Regions from separate parts of the Homo sapiens genome. Here region 2 is linked to region 1. Evidence: promoter capture Hi-C in human tissues and cell types (Jung and others, 2019). All regions are on one chromosome and are shown on one strand. The core of a region is centred on a gene start or on the middle of the fragment in contact, and the rest is flanking DNA. Distances in the headings are between cores, read along the strand shown. Region 1 holds the start of LIMA1 (LIM domain and actin binding 1). Region 2 overlaps TUBA1C (tubulin alpha 1c).

Region 1 (5,464 bases), core at 894-3,393:
GGAAAAAGTATCCCCTGTCACCAAGATGTGAATTGTTTTAGCTTCTGAAGCTTTCTTTTAGAATTATTAGGTTGAAATTTAGCCCCACCTTTAACCAGAGTCTGGAACAAAGCTTGAGTGTACCAAGTTAAAGAAAGTTATACAATGAGGTAATTTTTACAAAATGGCACTCCTTTGCTAATGTTGCCAATATACTGTTCTCTTCCCAGGGACTACCTGATAACAACACTTCCCAGCCCAATACAGAACAGTGGAAACAGATCCAACTATTTACTAAATGCCACATTAACAACAGGGTCTAATCCCATTTTCCATAGGCCATAGAATTGGAGGAAGAGAGGGTAAGAAATATGAAAGTGATACAAATACATAGATTGAAGAGAATCACTCATTATTACTCAGAGGTTTTTGTTTTTAAGGAAAAGCAGAAGAGAGAATTAAAAAACAAAACAAAACACCTATATTCCCTATGCTCCTACAGTACCCTGGGCTGACCTCTAGTATAGAAATGACCTCACTAATACCATAAATTGTATGTGGATCTGTCTAACCCATTTGATTTTAAGTTCTTTTAGGGTAAAGACGTTTGGCACTTTGAATCTACAGTAGGACTGACATGAAAGGCACTCAATATTTTGTCCAAAGAATGAAATAAGTTCCTAAACTAATTACCTAGTACATTATATGTTGTTCTATCAATGCAAAACAAGAAAACATATATGAACACACACTTTTTTTTGCCTTCTTTCACGCCAACTCTATAATTTTTTGAAGATCTATCTAAAACGTGATCATCCTGCACCCAGGTTATACCTCTACAGGAACTTAGAACATGTTGTTAGGGGTCATGTTCTTTTGTGTCTACATCATACCTCAGAAGAAAGGATTGGTGTTATTTCATGGCTCCTGAAATATTTAGCATTTGTGAATAGTATTGGTAACCAAGCAGATAAAAGGTACTGTGTTAAACCATTTAAATCAAGAGCAAAAGAAAGAATACTTAATGCAAAAGAAAACCTCTCCCCAAAATGGGCATTGCCTTAAAAACTGATAACTCCCTAATTACCTTTGACTAACCTGAAAAGTCAAGTCAATTGAACCATCTGGATTAGGCAGATCTGGATTAGGCAGACTTATCTTTTATTTTTATTTATTTATTTATTTTTTTGTAGAGACAAGGGTCTCGCTAAGTTGCCTTGGCTGGTCTCAAACACCTGGGCTCAAGCGATCCTCCCGCCTCAGTTTCCCAAAGTGTTGGGATTATAGGCGTGAGCCACTGCGCCCGTCCAAGGCAGACTTTTGAAAGCTGGAATTAGGTGCAAGACAATAGTAGTTCAAATATCTCTCACCAGGATCAGCTAAACCGTTCTTGCAAGCATCAGTAAGGAGGCTAGGAAGGGTGCCAGATGGTTCGTTCCTAGCAGCTACAACTTCAAGCTTTAGTATGTGTAGCCAGGGGTGTACAATTACCTTACATTAACACCAACATATGTCGGGGGCAAGTGCCAGCGATATATACACGATAGCGATTCGGGGATGACACATCGGCTGCAAGGACTGCTATATTCTCAACATTCCTCAAAAGGGTGTAAGTGTCTTAAACAGAGTTCAGCTGGCGTAATGGAAGGGAGAAAAAATCGAAAAGAGAGGGAATGGCTGAAAATGAAGGAAAAAGAACAGTTGAATATTACAGTATTTCCCTGGAAGGAGGGTATTTGGAGTTTTAATGAATTGTCACCTTCCTCCACCACACCAGAAAGTATACAGTTAGAATGCAGTGTTCTCGGTGGGAGAGGACGGGGTATTTGCAGCTCCCGCCCTTGGGCAGCAAAGGCTCAGCCCGACATAAGCACTCCCCACCCAGCGCAGGCCCCAGAAGTGAGGAAAGAACGGAGGATCAGCGTCCCTCGACCCCTTATCTCGAGGGGGAGGGACTCACACTCCTTGCACTCCCCCCGCCCCAAAAGTCGAAGGAGAAAGAGGGTGTGGAGAGAAGCCGGGGTCTTCCCGCACTCTCCGGTTGTGGAGAGAGAAGGCCCTTACCTGGCTAAAAGCCGCCTTTCCTCTGCGCTGCTACCAGCCCTGTCACAGGTCCCGGCGCTCTACCTAGCGCACCTGTCGCGACCAAGCTGCTAACACCTACTGCTCCTGCGGCCCCGCCCCGGACCCCGCCCACCGCCGCGGGGGCGCGCACGCCAGACAGCCTCCCGTGCGGCCTCGGGCTGAGCGTGCGCGCCACCGGCTACGTGCCCAGCGCTCGCGTCTGCTCCAGTCGCTCTGGCGGTGCGGGGCGCTGGCGACGGGACAGGGTTTTTGCTGCCCGGGGCCTAGTCTACCTCGGCACGCTTTTCTCTGAAGGAGACACGCACTTGCACGACGTGGGCCTCTGTGCAGCTCTACTTTGTCCTTAACTCCTCTGACTCAACGTTATCGCAGTTTGACTCTGGAGCCACTCAGGTTTTTCCTAAGCTCAACTCTAGCCAGCTAGGTTCCTGGTGCTTTGGGGGTAAGTTGTGTGCAGGGAGGGTGTTTTACAGGAGGCTGTGTGGTGTAGTGGAAAAAGCTGAATTAAGTACATTAATCCTGAAAACGGTTTGACAAGGGCAGATGACGTCCAAGTTCTCCAACAGCTGTTTTTACTCCTCCATTCAGAATAGGAGCTGTGCTAATGGTTTGGAGACCGTCAATTGGCCTAGCACTTGGCCATCCTGCCCCCAAATTCTTGTCCCAGTTCCGTGCCAGCTGCATGATGCCTTTTGATAGTATCCTTCTTTCCTGTACCTCAAGCATAGTAGGGTTTCAGACCACAAGTTTTCTGAAGCTTTTCGGAATTCATGCAGCTTGATGCGTTATTAGTAGGGGCTGCTCGTGGGAAAACGCTTGTAATTACACTTCCTCAAGAAGTTAATGAAAATGTGTGAGAAGAGAGATTTCCAACAGGTGATGAATATGCCAGCCAGTTATTCCCTTCTTCCTTCAAATATCCAGCCTAGACTGATTTCTGGATAGGTATTGTAGAAATAAAAATTTCAGACAAAACAAACTTAGATTTTGAATCGGACAACAGTCAGAACCAAAAGAGGCTCAGACACCCCTGCTCTAGCTGCCCAGGCATCAAACTTTATAGGCTGAACACGAAAGTAAAGAAATTTGATTGGCTACAGCTAAGCGTTTGCCTTATTTGGGTATGGTCACATGGGAGGTCCCTAATTATATAACCACTTGGCTGGTTGTCTGTTTGTGATTGGTTGAAACTCCATTCAAAATCAGGTACAAGGGGCCGGGCGCGGTGGCTCACACCTGTAATCCCAGCACTTTGGGAGGCTGAGGCAGGCGGATCCCCTGAGGTTAGGAGTTCGAGACCAGCCTAGCCAACATGGCGAAGCACCGTCTCCACTAAAAATACAAAAATTAGCCGGACGTGGTGGTAAGTGCCTGTAATCCCAGCTACTCGGGAGGCTGAGGCACGAGAATGACTTGAACCCGGGAAGTGGAGATTGCAGTGAGCAGAGATCTCGCCACTGCACTCCAGCCTGGATGAGAGAACGAGACTCCATCTCAAAAAAACAAAACAAACAAAAGGTGCAAGGAATACCTCTAAATTTTGGGTTGCTTTCTGGGTACAAAAACAACTCCAAACTAATGGCCTGCTACTTATTTTGCATTAACAGTATCAAGTATCAAGACTCCAGCAAAAGTGGCAGACAGCATGGGAATGCTAAAGAGCATACAATATCAATACAGGATAGTACTCCAGAAAATACGTTACCCTGCATGTGGCGTTCCCTCAATAGATGTCTCCCCTCCCCCCAATTTTTTTTAGCTCTGTGCTTTAGTGGATACAAAAATTACTTGCTTTCCCAAAGCCTCCTTTTGAAGATAGAGCTAGCATTAGGTTGATTGCTAAATTTTCAGGGATTTTATGAGCCAGGTCATAAGCACAACCATTATTAGAAATCAAATTATATAAGCTACAATTAAATTATCTTAAAAATAAAAGTAATAGGCCAGGCATGTTGAGTCACATTTGTAATCCCAGTGCTTTGGGAGGCTAAGGCGGGAAGATGGCTTGAGGCTAGAAGTTTGATGTTGCAGTGAGCTATGATCACACCACTGCACTCCAGCCTGGGCAACAGAGTGAGACCCTATTTCTAAAAAAAAATTTTTAAATATAATAAATATTAAAAACTCATCACTTTGTAGTTTTTTTCTTCATTTTACTAATAATTCTGCTCTTGAGGTTATTTGTCCATTGTATTCCCTGTGGAAATACTACATATGTTGTATGCATCTCTTCCCAACTCTATTCAGAAATGTCACATTGGTAGCACGAAATTGGCTGTAAGGGGAGTATTTACACCATGGAAATGGGCAAATGCAGCAAGTCAGGGCGTGATTTATTGTTTTGTTGATTTTTCTAGACCATATGTTAGCAAACCTTTTGTGTAAACAGCCAAATAGTAAATATTTTAGGCTTTGTGGGACTTATAGTCTCTGTCACAGCTACTCAGCTCTCACTGTAGTGCCAAATGTGCCAAAGTAGCCATAGACAATACTTAAAGAATGGGCATGGGCCAGGTGCAGTGGCTCACACCTGTAATCCCAGCACTTTGGGAGGCCCAGGCAGGGATCACTTGAGGCCAGGAGTTAGAGACTAGCCTGGCCAACATGGCAAAACCCTGTCTTTACAAACAAATAAAATAAACAGACAAAAAAGCTGGGTGTGGTGGTGTGTGCCTGTAATCCCAGTTACCTGGGAGTGTGAAGTGGGAGGATGCCTTGAGCCCAGGAGTTGGAGATTGTAATGAGCCGAGATCACACCACTGCACTCCAGCCTGGGCGACAGAACAAGACCCTGTCTCAAACAAAAAACTCATAGGCCTTTATCTGATAGTGAAGGGAACAATAGAGTTGAAAGGGAAAAATGGAGTAGATACAGGCAAATGTTTACATACATGATACGGTGCAACAAGAATAGCAGAACATACTGCAAAAGAAATTATGTCAACATATTTAAGAATCTTGGAAGAGAATGGCAAATATGCACTATAATTGATGAGACATCTACATATTGGAAGAAAATTACCTAGAGATTTATCTCCAGTACACAGTTGAATAAGCTTCTGTACTGGTAAAGATATTTGTTGCTTTAAAAGAATTGGTGTCAGCTGGGCACGGTGGCTCACGCCTATAATCCCAGCACTTTGGGAGGCTGAGGTGGGCAGATCACAAGTGGGCGGATCACGAGGTCAGAAGTTCGAGACCAGCCTGGACAACATGGTGAAATCCCATCTCTACTAAAAATACAAAAATTAGCCAGGTGTAGTAGTGTGCGCCTGTAGTCCCAGCTACTCAGGAGGCTGAGGCAGGAGAATCGCTTGAACTCCAGAGACACAGGTTGCAGTGAGCAGAGATCACACCATTGCACTCCAGCCTGGGCAACAGAGCGAGACTCCATCTCCAA
Region 2 (5,464 bases), core at 1,243-3,742, 1.0 Mb before region 1:
TCATCATTCATGGCTTCATACTTTCTCAGATGTTTACGTAGTCTTCCCAGCAAAACTGGACTGATGTTTCCGATGCTTAAAAACTAAGCTTTAGGCTGGGCACGGTGGCTGACATCTGTAATCCCAGCACTGGGAGGCCAAGGTGGGCGGATCATGAGGTCAGGAGATCGAGACCATCCTGGCTAACATGGTGAAACCCTCTCTACTAAAAATACAAAAAAATTAGCCGGGCGTGGTGGTGGGCGCCTGTAGTCCTAGCTACTAGGGAGGCTGAGGCAGGAGAATGGCGTGAACACGGGAGGCGGAGCTTGCAGTGAGCCGAGATCGTGCCACTGCACTCCAGCCTGGGCGACAGAGTGAGACTCCATCTCAAAAAAACAAACAAACAAAAAAAACCCTAAGCTTTAGTTATAAGCACTGACTTGGAAAATCAGGGACCTGCCTTTAGGACAAATAAACCTAGTAGCTATTTAGGGTTCTGGAACGTGAGGTTTATTGCCTACCAAAACAATTGCATTTGTCCTTGTCATTACTGTGCTCACAGGAGGCTTAACTGGTGTAATTGGTAGGCGAGAGTCTGCCCTGTGCATTGATCTCATGTAGTTGATGGACCCACAGGCTATAAGGGAGCTGAGTAGAGAATGTTCACAAATCTGAGGCCCATCACTTGGAGAAGCAAGAGTTTACAACAGAATACTTTATTTGGAAGGTCAAAATCATTCCTTCGTAAAGTAGCAGTTTGCTAACCAAAATAGCCCAGTTAGGTGGAGGAAATCCCCAACAACCTGAGGTCTCATGGAATTGTGGTTGTGTCACTTTACCCAAAATAAATGGGCTTCTTGGTACCTAGTGTCATATATTGGCTTACTGGGCCAATACTGTGCTTACTGTGCCAAGCACTATGCTGAGTACTTACTTAATTCTCAACCTAAGGTGATTACTATTCTCACTTAATCAGTGGAAGAACTGAGAAATGAATGTGGTCATACAGTAAGGAACTGGTACAGCCGGATCCTGACACAGCCTGACTCCAGTACCAGGGTGTTAGAACTTTGGCTATTCTGTTGTTCCACCTCAGAAAGCAGCTGCCAAATCTTTACAAGACATCCACTGTACCAGGCTGGTGGTCCTGGGCCTGCCCCTTAGGACCTCTCCAACTAAGAAACTGCCCTGTTCTGTGGCCACAGCAAGAGAACCAGAGGCTGCCTTCCCAGTTACCAAAACTTGAGCCCTGTATGCAAGCCCAGGCCTTGTGATTCCTCTGCCTAAGGCAATAGTTCATCTTAAAATAGTCTTAGCAAAGGTTTTTCTGCTCAAGGACTTGATTGTGAAAAGTTGTTCTGAATCACTTAGCACTTAAAAGCTTTTTTTTTTTTTTGGAGACAGGGTCTGCTCTGTCATCCAGGCTGGAGTGCAGTGGCCTGATCATCAGTCTTGAACCCCTGGGCTCAAATGCAAATGGTCCTCCCACCTTGGACCCCCAAAGTGTTGATTACAGGCGTGAGCCACTGCGCCTGGCCCAGAAGAGTTTTAAAATTGCAATTGGAGTAGCCATAGATTTATAGAAGTCCTCTGTAGGTTTCACCAAATGTGAACACTAAATGAAACTTTCGCAACACTAAAATGAAACTTTTTTATTTTGCAGGCTGACCAGTGCACCGGTCTTCAGGGCTTCTTGGTTTTCCACAGCTTTGGTGGGGGAACTGGTTCTGGGTTCACCTCGCTGCTCATGGAACGTCTCTCAGTTGATTATGGCAAGAAGTCCAAGCTGGAGTTCTCCATTTACCCGGCGCCCCAGGTTTCCACAGCTGTAGTTGAGCCCTACAACTCCATCCTCACCACCCACACCACCCTGGAGCACTCTGATTGTGCCTTCATGGTAGACAATGAGGCCATCTATGACATCTGTCGTAGAAACCTCGATATCGAGCGCCCAACCTACACTAACCTTAACCGCCTTATTAGCCAGATTGTGTCCTCCATCACTGCTTCCCTGAGATTTGATGGAGCCCTGAATGTTGACCTGACAGAATTCCAGACCAACCTGGTGCCCTACCCCCGCATCCACTTCCCTCTGGCCACATATGCCCCTGTCATCTCTGCTGAGAAAGCCTACCACGAACAGCTTACTGTAGCAGAGATCACCAATGCTTGCTTTGAGCCAGCCAACCAGATGGTGAAATGTGACCCTCGCCATGGTAAATACATGGCTTGCTGCCTGTTATACCGTGGTGACGTGGTTCCCAAAGATGTCAATGCTGCCATTGCCACCATCAAAACCAAGCGTACCATCCAGTTTGTGGATTGGTGCCCCACTGGCTTCAAGGTTGGCATTAATTACCAGCCTCCCACTGTGGTGCCTGGCGGAGACCTGGCCAAGGTACAGAGAGCTGTGTGCATGCTGAGCAATACCACAGCTGTTGCCGAGGCCTGGGCTCGCCTGGACCACAAGTTTGACCTGATGTATGCCAAGCGTGCCTTTGTTCACTGGTACGTGGGTGAGGGGATGGAGGAAGGCGAGTTTTCAGAGGCCCGTGAGGACATGGCTGCCCTTGAGAAGGATTATGAGGAGGTTGGAGCAGATAGTGCTGACGGAGAGGATGAGGGTGAAGAGTATTAACCTGTGTGCTGTACTTTTACACTCCTTTGTCTTGGAACTGTCTTATTTTTGTTCTGTAAATGTCTATTGCCGTAAATTGTTAATAAAATTGAAGTTTCCATTTTAAATGTCGAGCTGACTTAAATACTTGATCCAGTTAAAGTTGGATGTATGAGGCTGGTAGATGAAACCACCTGAGTCGAGGGTCTTGCTCTGTCACCCAGGCTGGAGTGCAGTGGCATGATAATACATAGCTCATTGCAGCCTCGAGCTCCTGGACTCATGTGATTCTCCTGCTTCAGCCTCCTAAGTAGCTGGGGACTGCAGGTGCACACCACCATGCCCAGCTATTTTTATTTCTTGTAGAGATGGGGCCTTGCTATGCTGCCCAGGGTGGTCTTCAACTGGCTTCAAGTGATCCTCCTGCCTCAACCTCTCAAAGTTTTGATTATAGGCATGAGCCACTGCCCAGCTTCTTGGTTTATCTGTTTAATTTGGGCCTGAATTAAGTGGTTATAGAATCATTTTGTAAGTGAGGAAACGGGTTCAGATTGAGCCAGTGCTTCTCTAACTAAAATGGATGTGAATCACCTGTAGATATTAAAATGCAGGTTTGGGGTCAACCTGGTGGCTCATGCACTTCGGGAGGCCAAGTTGGGTGGATCACGAGCCCAGGAATTCGAGACCAGCCTGGGCAACATGGTGAAAACCCATCTCTACCAAAACAAAAATTTGCATGCTGTGATGGCACCTGCCTATAGGTGGGAGGACCACCTGAGCCCAAGGAGGTTGAGGTAGTGAGCCATGATTGCACCACTGCATTCCAGCCTGGGTGACGGAGACCCCTGACTCTCAAATTTAAAAACAAAATGCAGGTTCTAATTCTATAGGCTTGAGGTGAGGCTTCAGACACGTCTTAAATTTTTTTTCTTTGAGATGGTCTCTTTCCCAGGCTGCAGTGCAATGGCACCATCATAGCTCACCCCCACCTTGACCTGGGCTAAGCCATCCTCCCACCTCAGCCTCCCAAGTAGCCAGGACTACAGGTGTGTTCCACCATGCCTGGCTGATTCTTGTAATTTTTTTTTTTTTTTTTTTTTTTTTTTTTGGTAGAGATGGGGTTTTGCCATGTTGCTTAGGCTGGCCTTGAACTCCTGGGCTCAGGCAATCCTGCCTCAGCCTCCCAAAGTGCTGGGATTACAGGAGTGAGCCACTACACCTGGCCCCTAGATACGTTTTTTAATAACCTCCCAAATGATGCTGTTGGTCTGATGTGACCACATGTACAGTAGCAAAGGGTTAGATAACAGTAACTGCTGGAGCCAAAATTCAAGTGCCCAGCCACACTGCCAGAACTATTGCTGTCAGTCTTTAATAAAGTATTAGTCACACGAGAAGGGCTTGGAATCCTGATTTATTCCATACTTAGCTAAGACCTACAGTGGCAAAGATGGTTCGTACTAAAGGGGTTATTGTTTAGAGAAAGTGGAAATGTCAGACAAAATAACAGTCACCGGTTTTTCTGGTATTGGCATTTGACCCAATTGTATGTCATGGAGATTATTTGAAGTAGGAGTAATATGTATGTGTAGGAAAGATTGGAGAGGGGTGAGTTCTCTGATTTGGACTTTTTTCCAAGCACCTGTTGGAGGACCGTGGTTCTTGGGGGCAGACGGGTGAAGGGGCATGAGTGTTATACGTAGCTGGAGAGCTTGGTGCCTGGTACTCAGTTGAACTAAGCAATGGGAAAGGACAATGACCAAAAGGTGAAGCTTCATGCAGAAGGGAGGAATCAGTTTTGGTGCTTGGGTGCTTGCCTGAGTGGGAATGCCTAATGAGTGGTAGCAGATGGGCCCTGGGGGCAGAGTTGCAGGCATACTCACCTCTCCTCCGTGACTTACTTTATTCTGATGTGTACCCAGTTACCATCTCTTTCCCAAAGGTGTTTTGTATCCCTTACCCATTGCTCACTTTAGCCCCTTTGCTCTGAGAATTGCATCTGAAAGATGTGCATGTTTAAGGCCAGCGCTGGGGTTCACAGCTGCAGTCCCAGCACTCTGGGAGGCCAAGGTGAGAGGATTGCTTAAACCCAAGAGTCTGAGACCAGTGCCTGGGCAAGAGGGTGAGACCCTGTCTATTTTGAGCATTTTTTTGGCCGGGTACCATGGCTCACGCCTGTAATCCCGGCACTTTGGGAGGCTGAAGCAGGTGGATCACTTGAGCTTAGGAGTTCAAGACCAGCCTGGGCAATATGGTGAAACCCCATCTCTACTAAAAATACAAACAATTAGCTGGGCATGGTGGTGCACGTCTGTGGTCCCAGCTGCTTGAGAGGCTGAAGTGGGAGGATTGCTTGAGCCTGGGAGGTGGAGGTAGCAGTGAGCTGAGATCGTGCCACTGCCCTCCAGCCTAAGGGACAAAAAATTTTTTTCCCTTAAATTTTTTTTTATGTCTCAAATTTTTTTAAATGTATATATTATACCTGCGTGCATAGCACAGCATGCTTTTGCAGCCTGAGATGCCTCAACTATGTGCTCTGGATGGTTTTATATAGCATTTGTCGAGAGCAACCATAGTTTTATGTCCTTCGGGGCAAGGTAAGACCCCAGCACAAATTCAGCCACTGCTACTTCTCAGATGAGCCAGGTTCTTCCTGCAGCCTGGGCAGGGGAGCGGGGTGGGATGCCTGAAATGAAGGTGAACCTTGAAGACGCTGGCTAGCCTGCCAGAGGGGATTTTGAGACCTTCCCAGGCCAGGAGATCTGCTGATTGCCATAGTGCAAGCACTGGAGGAAATGGGAATGGGACACCCGTGTATGAAAAGGAGCAGATAAATCACAAAGCTTAGGCGAGTGTGACACCCCA

The links. Contacts are between HindIII fragments. The study calls those that stand out against the background at their distance.
Region 2: a contact is called between a fragment that was not itself captured here and the fragment with the promoter of LIMA1 in region 1, in 1 of the 25 tissues and cell types used here (pancreas).

What each region holds. Positions count from the first base shown.
Region 1 is chr12:50,281,377-50,286,840 of GRCh38, forward strand. It overlaps LIMA1 (LIM domain and actin binding 1), which reads right to left and starts at 2,144. Exons shown (of 11, transcript NM_016357.5): 1 at 2,044-2,144. It overlaps LOC107984505 (a long non-coding RNA gene), which reads left to right and starts at 2,245. Exons shown (of 2, transcript XR_001749144.2): 1 at 2,245-2,506. RefSeq lists a silencer at 2,055-2,364. The HindIII fragment of the contact is 3,196 bases long and covers 775-3,970 here.
Region 2 is chr12:49,270,608-49,276,071 of GRCh38, forward strand. TUBA1C (tubulin alpha 1c) reads left to right here. Exons shown (of 4, transcript NM_032704.5): 4 at 1,646-3,993. The coding sequence ends at 2,620. Among named protein-coding and RNA genes, the nearest start is that of TUBA1C, 8.3 kb to the left of the region's middle. RefSeq lists a silencer at 3,379-3,673. The HindIII fragment of the contact is 6,713 bases long and covers 1-5,464 here.